2 separate regions of the Homo sapiens genome follow, and region 1 is linked to region 2. Evidence: promoter capture Hi-C in human tissues and cell types (Jung and others, 2019). All regions are on one chromosome and are shown on one strand. Each heading gives the region's core, a stretch centred on a gene start or on the middle of the fragment in contact. The rest is flanking DNA. Distances are from core to core; before and after follow the strand shown. Region 1 overlaps IPO9 (importin 9). Region 2 holds the start of ARL8A (ARF like GTPase 8A).

Region 1 (5,861 bases), core at 2,576-5,075, 270 kb before region 2:
GGACTTAGGGATAAAGATAATAAATAAAGGGCTAATAAGCAAGAGACATAATTCAGAACTTTGATGATAGAATAGGAAATTGGGCAAATGAAAAGCCTCCTAAAAGAAAAGGGCTAGGACTATAATTTAGAAAAGGAGATACTAAAGAAAGATATATGGAAAAGTTTATAAACAAAGGTATTCACTAGATATTTTTTACAGTAGTAAAAATTTGGAAATTATAAAAAGACATTAGTTAATTATATCCATAAAATGAAATACTGTGCAGCCATTAAAAATCAAGCTTAAAAGGAATATCTGAAACCATGGGAAAGAGCTTACATTATAATAAATGAAAAGATACTTTTCCCAAAAAATCCATAGAATATGATCCCAAGTTTTGATTTTTCTTTTAGAAAAGCATGTATGTATAGATAGGTATGTTTTAAAAAAAAATACATCAAAATGTTGAGTGTTTAGGTAGTGGAATTACAGGTGTTTTCATTATTACTTTTCTGCATTTTAAGTTTTTTTTTTCCTGTAGTGAATGTATTTATTAATACCTTATTACTAGTAAAATATTAAGGATTCTTTTTTTAAAGAGAGAGCTCCAATATTGAAGCTCAGAAAGATGTACAGGATAAGGATTATTTATATAATGTGATATACTGAACATGTTATTTGATAGCTTTTTCACTGAAAAATGTGTACTGAGGAGCTTTCCACATTGTGTTCTTGGATATATCTCATTCTTTTCAGCCATTACTAATGTTCCATAAAATGGGTATATCATAATTTACCCATTCTGTTAATGGACATCTAGGGTATTCCCAATTTTTTTCTATTACAAACAATGCTGCAGTGATCTTTTAAGGTATACTTTAATGCACATTGCCTATATTTTTCCATACTAAATAGAGGAGGATGTTTTGTTCTATAGATAAAGAAGATTGAGCTAAAGTTCCCTTTCTTCATAAGGCTCTGCTTTTTAGGAGTTTTGCCTTTTGCCCCAGAAGTAGCTTTGAGAGTTCTTCATGTCTACCGTGGCTACCCCATAGGAGATATGTATGATTTCTCTCATGCATCAAAGCCAGTGTTTTGGCAATTTTTGCAGCTTTCATGTCTTCTTAAAGTATCAGTTGGGCTTTTTTTTTTTTTTTAAGCATTTGGTTTTATAACGTAGGTTTCACAAGAATAAAGACTTTAAAGATTTTTCTCTAGAAAAAGCCACATTTTGTTTTATGAGTAGCTGTTAATGACTAGTCCCTACTTTAATGAAGCCATACAAAGTGTACCTCTTGCAGATTTAGGATCTCTCCTGTTCTTTCAGGTTATTCATGTGGCCCCACTAGGTCCCGGGTATGTGATAAGTAATCAATGCAGAAGTTGTTAACTTAGGTTAGGGCCAAACAACAGGCATCATTAAGCGAGAAGCAGATGCAGACCATCAGGCAGGGGGATTCCGTGTTGCCTTATCCACTTCAGATCCCGTCGTCGCCTCACTGGCTCAGGACATCTTCAAGGAGCTGTCCCAGATTGAAGCCTGTCAGGGCCCAATGCAAATGAGGCTGATTCCCACTCTGGTCAGCATAATGCAGGCCCCAGCAGACAAGATTCCTGCAGGGCTTTGTGCGGTAAGTGGCCGTGTGTGTGTGTGTGTGTGTGTGAGAGAGATCTACAAGTGCCACCCACAGATGCATCTAGCTGACAAGAACCTAATAGCGTTAGAGATTCATGGGGTGATTTTGCTGAGCTCTTTTGCCTGCAAGGACAGTGGGTGATTCTCTGAAGCTTTAAGAAAATGGCTTGGCTTGGCGCGGTGGCTCATGCCTATAATTGCAGCACTTTGGGAGGCCGAGGTGGGTGGATCACAAGGTCAGGAGTTCGAGACCAGCCTGGCCAATGTGGTGAAACCCTATCTCTACTAAAAATACAAAAATTAGCCGGGCATGGTGGCAGGCATCTGCAGTACCAGCTACTCAAGAGGCTGAGGCAGGAGAATCACTTGAACCCAGGAGGCAGAGGTTGCAGTGAGTGGAGATCGTGCCACTGCACTCCAGCCTGGGTGACAGAGCGAGACTGCCTCAAAAAGAAAGAAAGAAAGAAAATGGCTCTTCTTGTTCCAGAGGTACCCTCAGTGAATTGAACAGAGTGCCACCTTTACACAGTGCCACTAAGTATGTCACCTGGTTATCCAATCCACTACCATGTACTACTGCCCACCCCTATGGCTAATCAATTAGTAAGCTATTATGAGAAGGCTGAGAGTACTACCCATTTAATTATTCCTTTTATTTTGGAAACTTGCCTTTCATTAATAAGCTTTCTCTGGGTTGCTATGTAATACCCATCCAGTAAGGATCTTGGTTGTTGGGCAACCCCCACCCCAGAGGCAATTCTGACTTTTCTTTTTCTTCTCTCTTTCAGACAGCCATTGATATCCTGACAACAGTAGTACGAAATACAAAGCCTCCCCTTTCCCAGCTTCTCATCTGCCAAGCTTTCCCTGCTGTGGCACAGTGTACCCTTCACACAGATGACAATGCCACCATGCAGGTATCTGAGACATGGAGAGTAGAAGAGGGAAGATAGCTCCCCAGCCATGGGCTTATACTATGCTGAGAAATCTGACATGGTTTTATGCTTTTGAAATACGGAATTCTCAACTCCATATTTACTTAGCAGATTCAGGAAGGGTTCAGTCTGCAAAAGCCAAGCATTTCTGGTGCTTTGGAGCATGTTACAGTTTTTAAAAATATGGATACCAAGCACCCTGCCCATCTGTATTGGGTATTGCTACTGTGAAAGAGGTTACAGACATCTAGACTTGGGGCCATAAGAAAGTCTTTCTGCATATTTCTTCTAGTAATAAAGTCAGCAGAGTGATGGGCCTCTAGAGAGGGGAGACATGCCTGAATATTTTTTCTCTTTTTGTTTCTTGGGTGAATTGGTTACCTTTTCAGGTGTCTGCTACTGTGATTGATTAGAAAGGTTATAGGAACTTGCCAGTGAATATTGATCAGCTTGGAAATCCCTAGGCAACTAGTGGTTTGTGTAAGACCTATATAAAGACCTACAGTATCCCCAGTTATTCCAAGATTGTAAGCATATTTTTTTAGTACCAGAGGTAGACCTTTATGATTAAAATTCATTTTGCTTGGCCATTGTCCCTTGTGATTAAAAAAATATATATACACATTTGTGAGATAGCTGATTAGGTAAAGGGGGAATTATGTAATGCACGTCTATGTCTGTAACAGTAAATGTCTTAACTCCAGTGGTATGAGCCCACCACAAACATTATAGACTCACCGCTTTTATGAGGCATAGGCCTCTGGGAACATTTGTTTATACAGACTGAGGGCCTTCTGGCATCTGTCCCTCGATTACTAATCTTGCTTGCCACCCCTGTCTCCCCAGAATGGCGGAGAGTGCTTGCGGGCCTATGTGTCAGTGACCCTGGAACAAGTAGCCCAGTGGCATGATGAGCAGGGCCACAATGGACTGTGGTATGTGATGCAAGTGGTGAGCCAGCTCCTGGACCCCCGCACCTCAGAGTTCACTGCGGCCTTTGTGGGCCGCCTTGTTTCCACCCTCATCTCCAAGGCAGGGCGGGAACTCGGGGAGAATCTAGACCAGATTCTTCGTGCCATCCTCAGTAAGATGCAGCAGGCAGAGACGCTCAGTGTCATGCAGGTAAGAGAGCAGTGGGGAGTGGGCTTCCTACTCCCTGGCTGATAGAAATGAAAATTCGTATTTTGGTCCTGAGTTATTTTATTTTACCCTCTTACTAGCCTTGTAGGACAGTTAAGTAAAATGGGACCTGTCTGATCTGTTTGGCCTAAGAAACATGGACAAGGAAATCTCCCATGTTTTCTTGTCCTGTGGATAATACCCTCAGTGTAGACTGTATTTCTTATCTGACTGGCCAGTTCCCTCTCATCTCCTATGTCTCTGAAATTGATTTCCCTGAAGCAAATGTCCTTATTTTCTCCTAGTCCCTGATCATGGTGTTCGCTCATCTGGTGCACACTCAGCTAGAACCTCTCTTGGAGTTCCTGTGTAGCCTCCCAGGACCTACTGGCAAACCTGCTCTAGAGTTTGTGATGGCTGAGTGGACAAGCCGACAGCACCTGTTCTATGGACAGTATGAAGGCAAAGTCAGGTAGAACCTCATCTTTCTTTTCTGGGCATTCTGCCACCACTCATATTTCTTTTTTTTTTTTTTTTTTTTTTTTTTTTTTGAGACAGTCTCGCTCTGTCGCCCAGGCTGGAGTGCAGTGGCACAATCTTGGCTCACTGCAACCTCCACCTCCTAGGTTCAAGCAATTCTCCTGCTCCTGCCTCAGCCGTCCGAATATTACACACATGCACCACCATACCCAGTGAATTCTTTGTGTGTGTGTTTTTAGTAGAGAGAGGGTTTCACCATGTTGGCCAGGCTGGTCTTGAACTCCTGACCTCAAGTGATCCACCCACTTCGGCCTCCCACAGTGCTGGGATTACAGGTGTGAGCCACTGCTCCTGACACATATTTCTTTTTTTTCCTGATTTGCTCCATTGATTTTTGTTTGACATTTCAAATGGCTCTCTGTATTCCCTTTTCCCTGTCTTTCTTTATTGCTAACGCACATATGTGAATAGCTGCCATCTTGAAATCCCCAAAAGACAGTCAACACAGGTAGACTATATATTTCTGGTCTCTGTTTACAAGAGATCCCTTCTCTACCACAGACTTCACACAGCTAAGTGCTGCTAGTGGCTTATTTTCCTTTATAAGCCCAAGCCTTGGCCAGGCACAGTGGCTCACACCTATAATCCCAGCACTTTAGGAGGCTGAGGCGAGCAGATCACCGGAGGTCAGGAGTTCAAGACCAGCCTGGCAAACATGGTGAAACACTGTCTCTACTATAAATACAAAAAATAGCTGGATGTGGTTGTGGGTGCCTGTAATCCCAGCTACTCGGGAGGCTAAGGCAGGAGAATCGCTTGAACCAAGGAGGCAGATCACGCCATTGCACTTCAGCCTGGGCGACGAGCGAAATTGTCTCAGAAAAATAAAAATAAAAAACCCAACCTTCTAACCCTGGCTTCCTAACTTTTTATCCTGGATTTTTATACCACTGATTCTTATCACCTCGTTGCACCTTACAATATGGTGCAACCTTAGCTTTGTTCAAGAAGAACAGGTCACCTGTAATCCCGGCACTTTGGAAGACTGAGGTGGGCGAATTGCTTGAGACCCACCCGGGCAACATGGTGAAACCTGTGTCTACCAAAAAAATACAAAAATTAGCCAGGCACGGTGGCGCATGCCTATAGTCCCAGCTACTTGGGAGGCTGAGGTGGGAGGATCACCTGAACCCAGGGAGGTCAAGGCTGCAGTGAACCATGATCACACCACTGCACTCAGCCTGGGTGACAGAATGAGACCCTATCTCAAAAACAACAACAACAACAACAACAACAAAAAAGCACAGATCTCATTAAACCACCTCATGAACTCTAAAATCTCATTTTCAGCTGAACTCTCTTAGCTCTCCTAATTAGTTGTTAACGGAATTTTCACTATCAAATAGAGGGTCTTAGGACATAATTGCTTATCTCCTTGGAGTGAACTCGAGATGGGCGGCTGATTGACCTTTTTTTGGATCTTCCTTGCCAGCTCTGTGGCACTCTGTAAGCTGCTCCAGCATGGCATCAATGCAGATGACAAACGGCTACAGGATATCCGTGTGAAGGGAGAGGAGATCTACAGCATGGATGAGGGCATCCGCACCCGCTCTAAGTCAGCCAAAAGTGGGTGCTGCTGCGATTCTTCCAATCCTCTCCCTATACGAAGGGGCTAAGGATACCTGGGTGAAGGGAAGGAATGCACTGTG
Region 2 (5,308 bases), core at 2,688-5,187:
TCTACCCCATCCCCAACAATAGAGTCTGAGGAAGGAGGCCCAGTTCTTGTTTGTCTCTCATCCCAGGGGGTGCTTGGATAAGAAACTTGAACTTCTCTGGACCTCAGTGTTTCTGAATGTAAAACTGGGGAGAAGGGTTTCGGTCTCCTAGGAACTGTAAATAAGACTCACAACATGCTTGGAAATGGTTTCGATATAGCATGGGGAACCATCACTGCTCTTTGGCAACTAGAAGATCCACAGGCTACCAAGTAAATGAGAAGCCCAGCCTGGCAGAATGTGACCTTGGCAGAGGGGGATGCTGGGAGGACCTTCAAGGAGCCAGGCTCCCCGGCACCAGTAGGTCTTGTTCAGCTGTGAATCGGAGCTAAGGTGGAATCAGATTATGACTTAATTTCCCTGCTAATGCCTCCCTGTCTCATAGGCTCCTCATTTAAGGTTGGAAGTAACCTGAAGTCATGCAGCCCAACCTCTTGTCTCAGACTTCAGTCCCTTCTGCCCCATCCCCTCTTGGGTCAGTTCCAACTATCAGAAAGTTCTTTATATTGAGTTAACAATCCGGCCGGACATGGTGGCTCATACCTGTAATCCCAGCACTTTGGGAGGCTGAGGCAGGCAGATCACCTGAGGTCAGGGGTTCGAGACCAGCCTGGCCAACATGACGAAACCCCATCTCTACTAAAAATACAAAAATTAGCCAGGCATGGTGGTGTATGCCTGTAATCCCAGCTACTCGGGAGACTGAGGCAGGAGAATTGCTTGAGCCTGGGAGGCGGAGGTTGCAGTGAGCCGAGACTGTACCACTGCACTCCCAGCCTGGGTGATAGAGCAACACTCTGTCTCAAAAAAAAAAAAGAAAAAAGAAAAAAAAGAAAAAAAAATCTATCATTCCTAGAATGTCCACCCATTGTTCCTAAGTCCCCTTGGGCACTCCAAGACTAGTTATTCCATAGGACAGTCTTTGACACTTTTAAATATTTGAAAATGACCCTGTTGTTTCCTAGGACAAAACATCTCCCACTTTTCTAGCATCACAACTTTTTCAGAACTCAAAGGATGTTTTAGGTTCCTTTTTTTTTTTTGAGACGGAGTTTCGCTCTTGTTGCCCAGGCTGGAGTGCAGTGGCGGCACGATCTTAACTCACTGCAGCCTCCGCCTCCTGGGTTCAAGCAATTCTCTTGCCTCAGCCTCCCAAGTAGCTGGGATTACAGGTGGCCACCACCATGCCTGGCTAATTTTTGTATTTTTAGTAGAGATGGGGTTTCACCATGTTGGCCAGGCTGGTCTCGAACTCCTAGCCTCAGGTGAAACCCCCACTTTGGCCTCCCAATTGCTGGGATTACAGGCGTGAGCCACCATGCCCGGCTGATGTTTCAGGTTCTTAGAAGCAGTGTATATAATTTCTTTCCAGCTCACATTAACCTGCTGAGCAGCTAGACACACTAAACTCAATTTCTATTTACAGCCAGACCTCATAGGGTGAGTAGAAAAAACCCAATGGCGAAAGATCTGAGACAAACAGAGGCCAAATGAACAGGCACAGGTAATTCAGAAATTCAGTGGTAGGCATGGGAACAGAGCCCAGGGGTCCCAACTCTTCGTTTCTTTCTGGAAGACACTCAACTGTGATTATACACGGGGTGGGCAGCAATGCCAGTGTGGTAGCCCCAGAGGATCTGAAAACACTGGAGTGACCGGGACACTGGAATTCCAACTGCAGCCCACATGGGGTGGTTTTCCTTGGGAAGCCTCTCTAAAGAAGGGAATTTAGCTTGCCTGCTCTTTTAGAATGTGCCAGCGGAAGTGGCAAATTTAAGATTAAAAAGGGGACCTTGTGGGCTGGAGATGGGGTGCTTTTCCTGTATATCACAGGAACTCTTGACCCTGGCAGGGGAATTTGGGACTCTTGGGTTCTGTTTCTGGCCTGCTATAGTCTCCAACTCTCTGGATATGATGCTGGTCTAGAGGGGGCCCTCCTGTCAAAGGCTCAACTGCAGACCCAGAAACCGAACCCACCCGGGTACCTGTGGATCCCTGTCCCAGAGCACAGCTATAGTAACACCCTGGGGAACGAGGAGATACCTAGGCCCAGCTGCATTTCTCAGACCTAAACGCCTAGAACCCAAGCCACCTAGGCCTGCAGAGTCAGGTCAGAGTCCAGGTGTTATGTGCCTGCTCTGGGAATCCAAGAGCCTAAGTCAATGCCAAGTTTAACCAGAGGGTCTCTGACCCCAAGGGCAGAGCCTAGGCAGACAGAGCCCAGGGGTGTTAGCTCCGAAAATTACTGTGCCAAAACCGCAGCATTGGCCTGAAGATCCTGCCCTGTCAGGTCAGGAGACAGGAGACACTGGGTCGAGAAAGGGCAGAGGTCATTTGCAGAGCATGTTTGGGAAAGGAAGCCAGTGTTCAATTGTGTAACCACAGGATGCCCGCCCCTCGAGCTTTCCATCTGCCTTCATGCCTCAGGTCCAATGAAGTGACGTCCCCTGCCTTCTAGGACGCTGAGAACTGTCGAGGAGGCCCATCTTCTGCAAGGTGGGGCAACAACACGGACAGGTAGAGGTACCTAGGCCGGCTGGATACATTCCTCTGCTGACCTATCTCATCAGTATCTTTGGTTACTATCTGGCCAACTCACAGTTGTGGGAAACCTCAGCTTTGGGACTGGGGCCAGGTCCCTGGACAACCCCAGCCCCTGTCCCATGCTTCCTCGACCCACAAGCCCTGTCTAGCCTGGCTCTGACAGGCAGGCCGCAGCCATTACGGCAGCCTCAGCTCACACCCATGGAGCTCATCTTCCCCTTTTTTGAGAGAGATTTTAACTCCTTCCCCACCACTCCCCTGGCGCTGAAAGACTTACAATCACCCACTTCAGTGTTGACGACCCAAAGCCCTTAGAGCCACTCTCCCAAGGCCCCAGTGGGCCGTGCCCCTACACCTCATCCTCTCTTGTCGGGAGCACCTGCTCCTGCAAACTTCTGAGCCAGACGGAGTCTCCAAACTCCCGTTACCATGCGATCCTCCCTGGACCCCCGGCTAGACACTGCGGGTCGGGGAGAAGTTGGGGAGGAGTCTGGGCTTGAGCCAAGGGCCTCAGCTGACTCCTCTACCCCGGGGGATACCTCCCCTCCCCCTCAATAGGGCCGGGGCTTCCTCTTCCGGCAAGGAGGGGTTAAGCCCTCTGGGTGGGGCTGGGCTTGCCCAAACCCCCTCCTCAAGCCTCTCGGCCGCCCCGTCCCGTGACCCTCTACCCGCGGGACAGGAAGGCCCGTGCACTTTCGCCCCGTCATGCCCCCTTGCGCGGGGGCCAGAGGGGGCCCGTCTCAGCCGGCAGCGGGTCCCTCCTGCTTCGAGAGCCCCTCGGTGCCGCCTGCCCCGTGGCACCGGCCCTGTCTGTTCGTCCCCCTTCCCCTGCCCCCAGCCGTGCAGTACCGGCCCGGGTGAGAGAGCGGGTCGCGCGCCGCCCCGGTCCCCCACGGCACGGGCCGTACTAGGCCCCAAGCGCTCGGGGCCGGCTCCTCCCCCGCCCGGCGCCCGGCCGTGCCCGGCTATGCCAGGCGGCGACCCCGGCTCAGCAGGGCGCGGCGCGGGCGGGGACAGGCCCGACCCGCGGCCCGCGCCCGGGGACCCCGCGCCCGACGCCCTCGTACCGCGATCACGTTGACGAAGGTGGTCTTGCCCGAGTACTGAAGCCCGACCAGCGTGAGCTCCATCTCCTCCTTCCAGAATAGGGCCTTGAACCAGTCCAGCAGCTTGTTGAACAAAGCGATCATGGTCGCTGCCGCCGGCCCCGCCCGGTGCCAGGTCCCCGCCGCCCCTCGCTGCCCTCGCGCTGCGGCCCGGAGCGGCCCCTCCCCGGTACGGCCCGGGTCCCGCGGCTCGGTGCGGGCGGAGGCTCGAGCGCGGCTGCCGACGACTCGCTGCCCCGGAATCGGCTCGCCGATGGGTGTGGCTTCCGCGCCCTCCTCCTCCGCCGCCGCCGCCGCCCTCCCTCGCGGCCGGGCCGTGTCCTGCTCGCACCCGAGCGCGCGCTCCTCCCTCGCTGGAGCCGGGGGGCCAGGGGCCGCACCCGCAGGTGGGGTGAGCAGGGAATCCGCAGGTGGGGTGAGCAGGGAATCCGCAGGCTTCAGCGGCGGGGGTTGACCGGCAGCTGGCGTCGAGAGGCGCTTGGGAAATGGGGTCTAATTTATTTTAGACCCTGTCCCCGACTGCCGCGCCCTGACTGGCACCCCCTTTCTTAAAGGGTGGTGGGCTCGAGGTGGGTGAGGTTCCGGTTAAGCAGGAGCCTTTTCAGGTTGAAGGAGAGTGGGTCACCCACTTCCCAGGACACGGAGATGAGATCTCTACGACAGGGAGGCAGATGGAGGCTTTTTTGTCCCTGAACCCTTGCCTCTGAGCATTCCTGGGTACAGTCCCATCCTCTCAAAATGCACCCAGTGCAGAGGGACAACCGTATTCGGGTCTTTTAATACTCCATCTTGTTTTGTTCACCACAATTTACCCCGACCACTTGTTAGGAAGCCTCTGGCCCCAAGTGAAACGGACGCTTGAACTTGCTCCGGATTTTTACCAGCATCCCCAAGATACCCAAACAGATACAGTCCTGGCAGGGGGTTTTCAGTGAGGAACGTCTGTGACAAAGGAAAATGTTGCCCTGTTTTGGTGAAAAGCAGAGTATTCTTCAGGAGGAGAAGTGATAGTTCTCCTCTTGAAGTGGGTCTGGAGTGCCTGCAAAGATGCCTTACTCCTGCCCCTCTCCTTGCAAGACCCACCCATAGGACCTGCTCAGGCAGGCTGACAACCTCAGCTGGCAGTCCCGGGTAGGCTCAGGCTTCGGGCAGTCCCCAGCCTATGCTGGCTGCCCGTTGGGGTTTGGTTTTCAAATGTAGTCATATGTAGTCTATTGTTTTAGTCAAAAGTGGGTAAACTATCAATATCAACCATATCTGTCCAATCAACTGGAGTTAGATGACCCCAAATAGTCAAACAGTTACCAAAGTAGAAGAATCACAAGGTTTCGGCTAGCATAATATTGTTTTTTTTTTTTTTTTTGATGGGGTCTCACTGTGTGGCCCAGGCTGGAGTGCAGCGGTGGGATCTCGACTCACTGCAGCCTCCACCTCCTCGGGCTCAGGTGATTCTTCTACCTCAGCCTCCCGAGTAGCTGGGACTACAGGCATGCGCCACCATGCCAGCCTAATTTTTGTATATTTGGTAGAGACGGGGTTTTGCCATGTTGTCCAGGCTGGTCTCGAAGCCCTGAGCTCAAGCCATCTGCCTGCCTCAGCCTCCCAAAGTGCTGGGATTA

What was found. Contacts are between HindIII fragments. The study calls those that stand out against the background at their distance.
Region 1: a fragment that was not itself captured here is called in contact with the fragment with the promoter of ARL8A in region 2 in 2 of the 25 tissues and cell types used here (dorsolateral prefrontal cortex and spleen).

Annotation. Positions count from the first base shown.
Region 1 is chr1:201,867,184-201,873,044 of GRCh38, forward strand. It overlaps IPO9 (importin 9), which reads left to right. Exons shown (of 24, transcript NM_018085.5): 16 at 1,465-1,613; 17 at 2,407-2,535; 18 at 3,400-3,675; 19 at 3,978-4,144; 20 at 5,645-5,778. Among named protein-coding and RNA genes, the nearest start is that of MIR6739, 6.7 kb to the left of the region's middle. RefSeq lists a silencer at 1,447-1,662. The HindIII fragment of the contact is 8,088 bases long and covers 1-5,861 here.
Region 2 is chr1:202,140,800-202,146,107 of GRCh38, forward strand. It overlaps ARL8A (ARF like GTPase 8A), which reads right to left and starts at 3,938. Exons shown (of 7, transcript NM_138795.4): 1 at 3,651-3,938. The coding sequence starts at 3,773. RefSeq lists silencers at 2,879-2,928, 3,429-4,138. The HindIII fragment of the contact is 36,256 bases long and covers 1-5,308 here.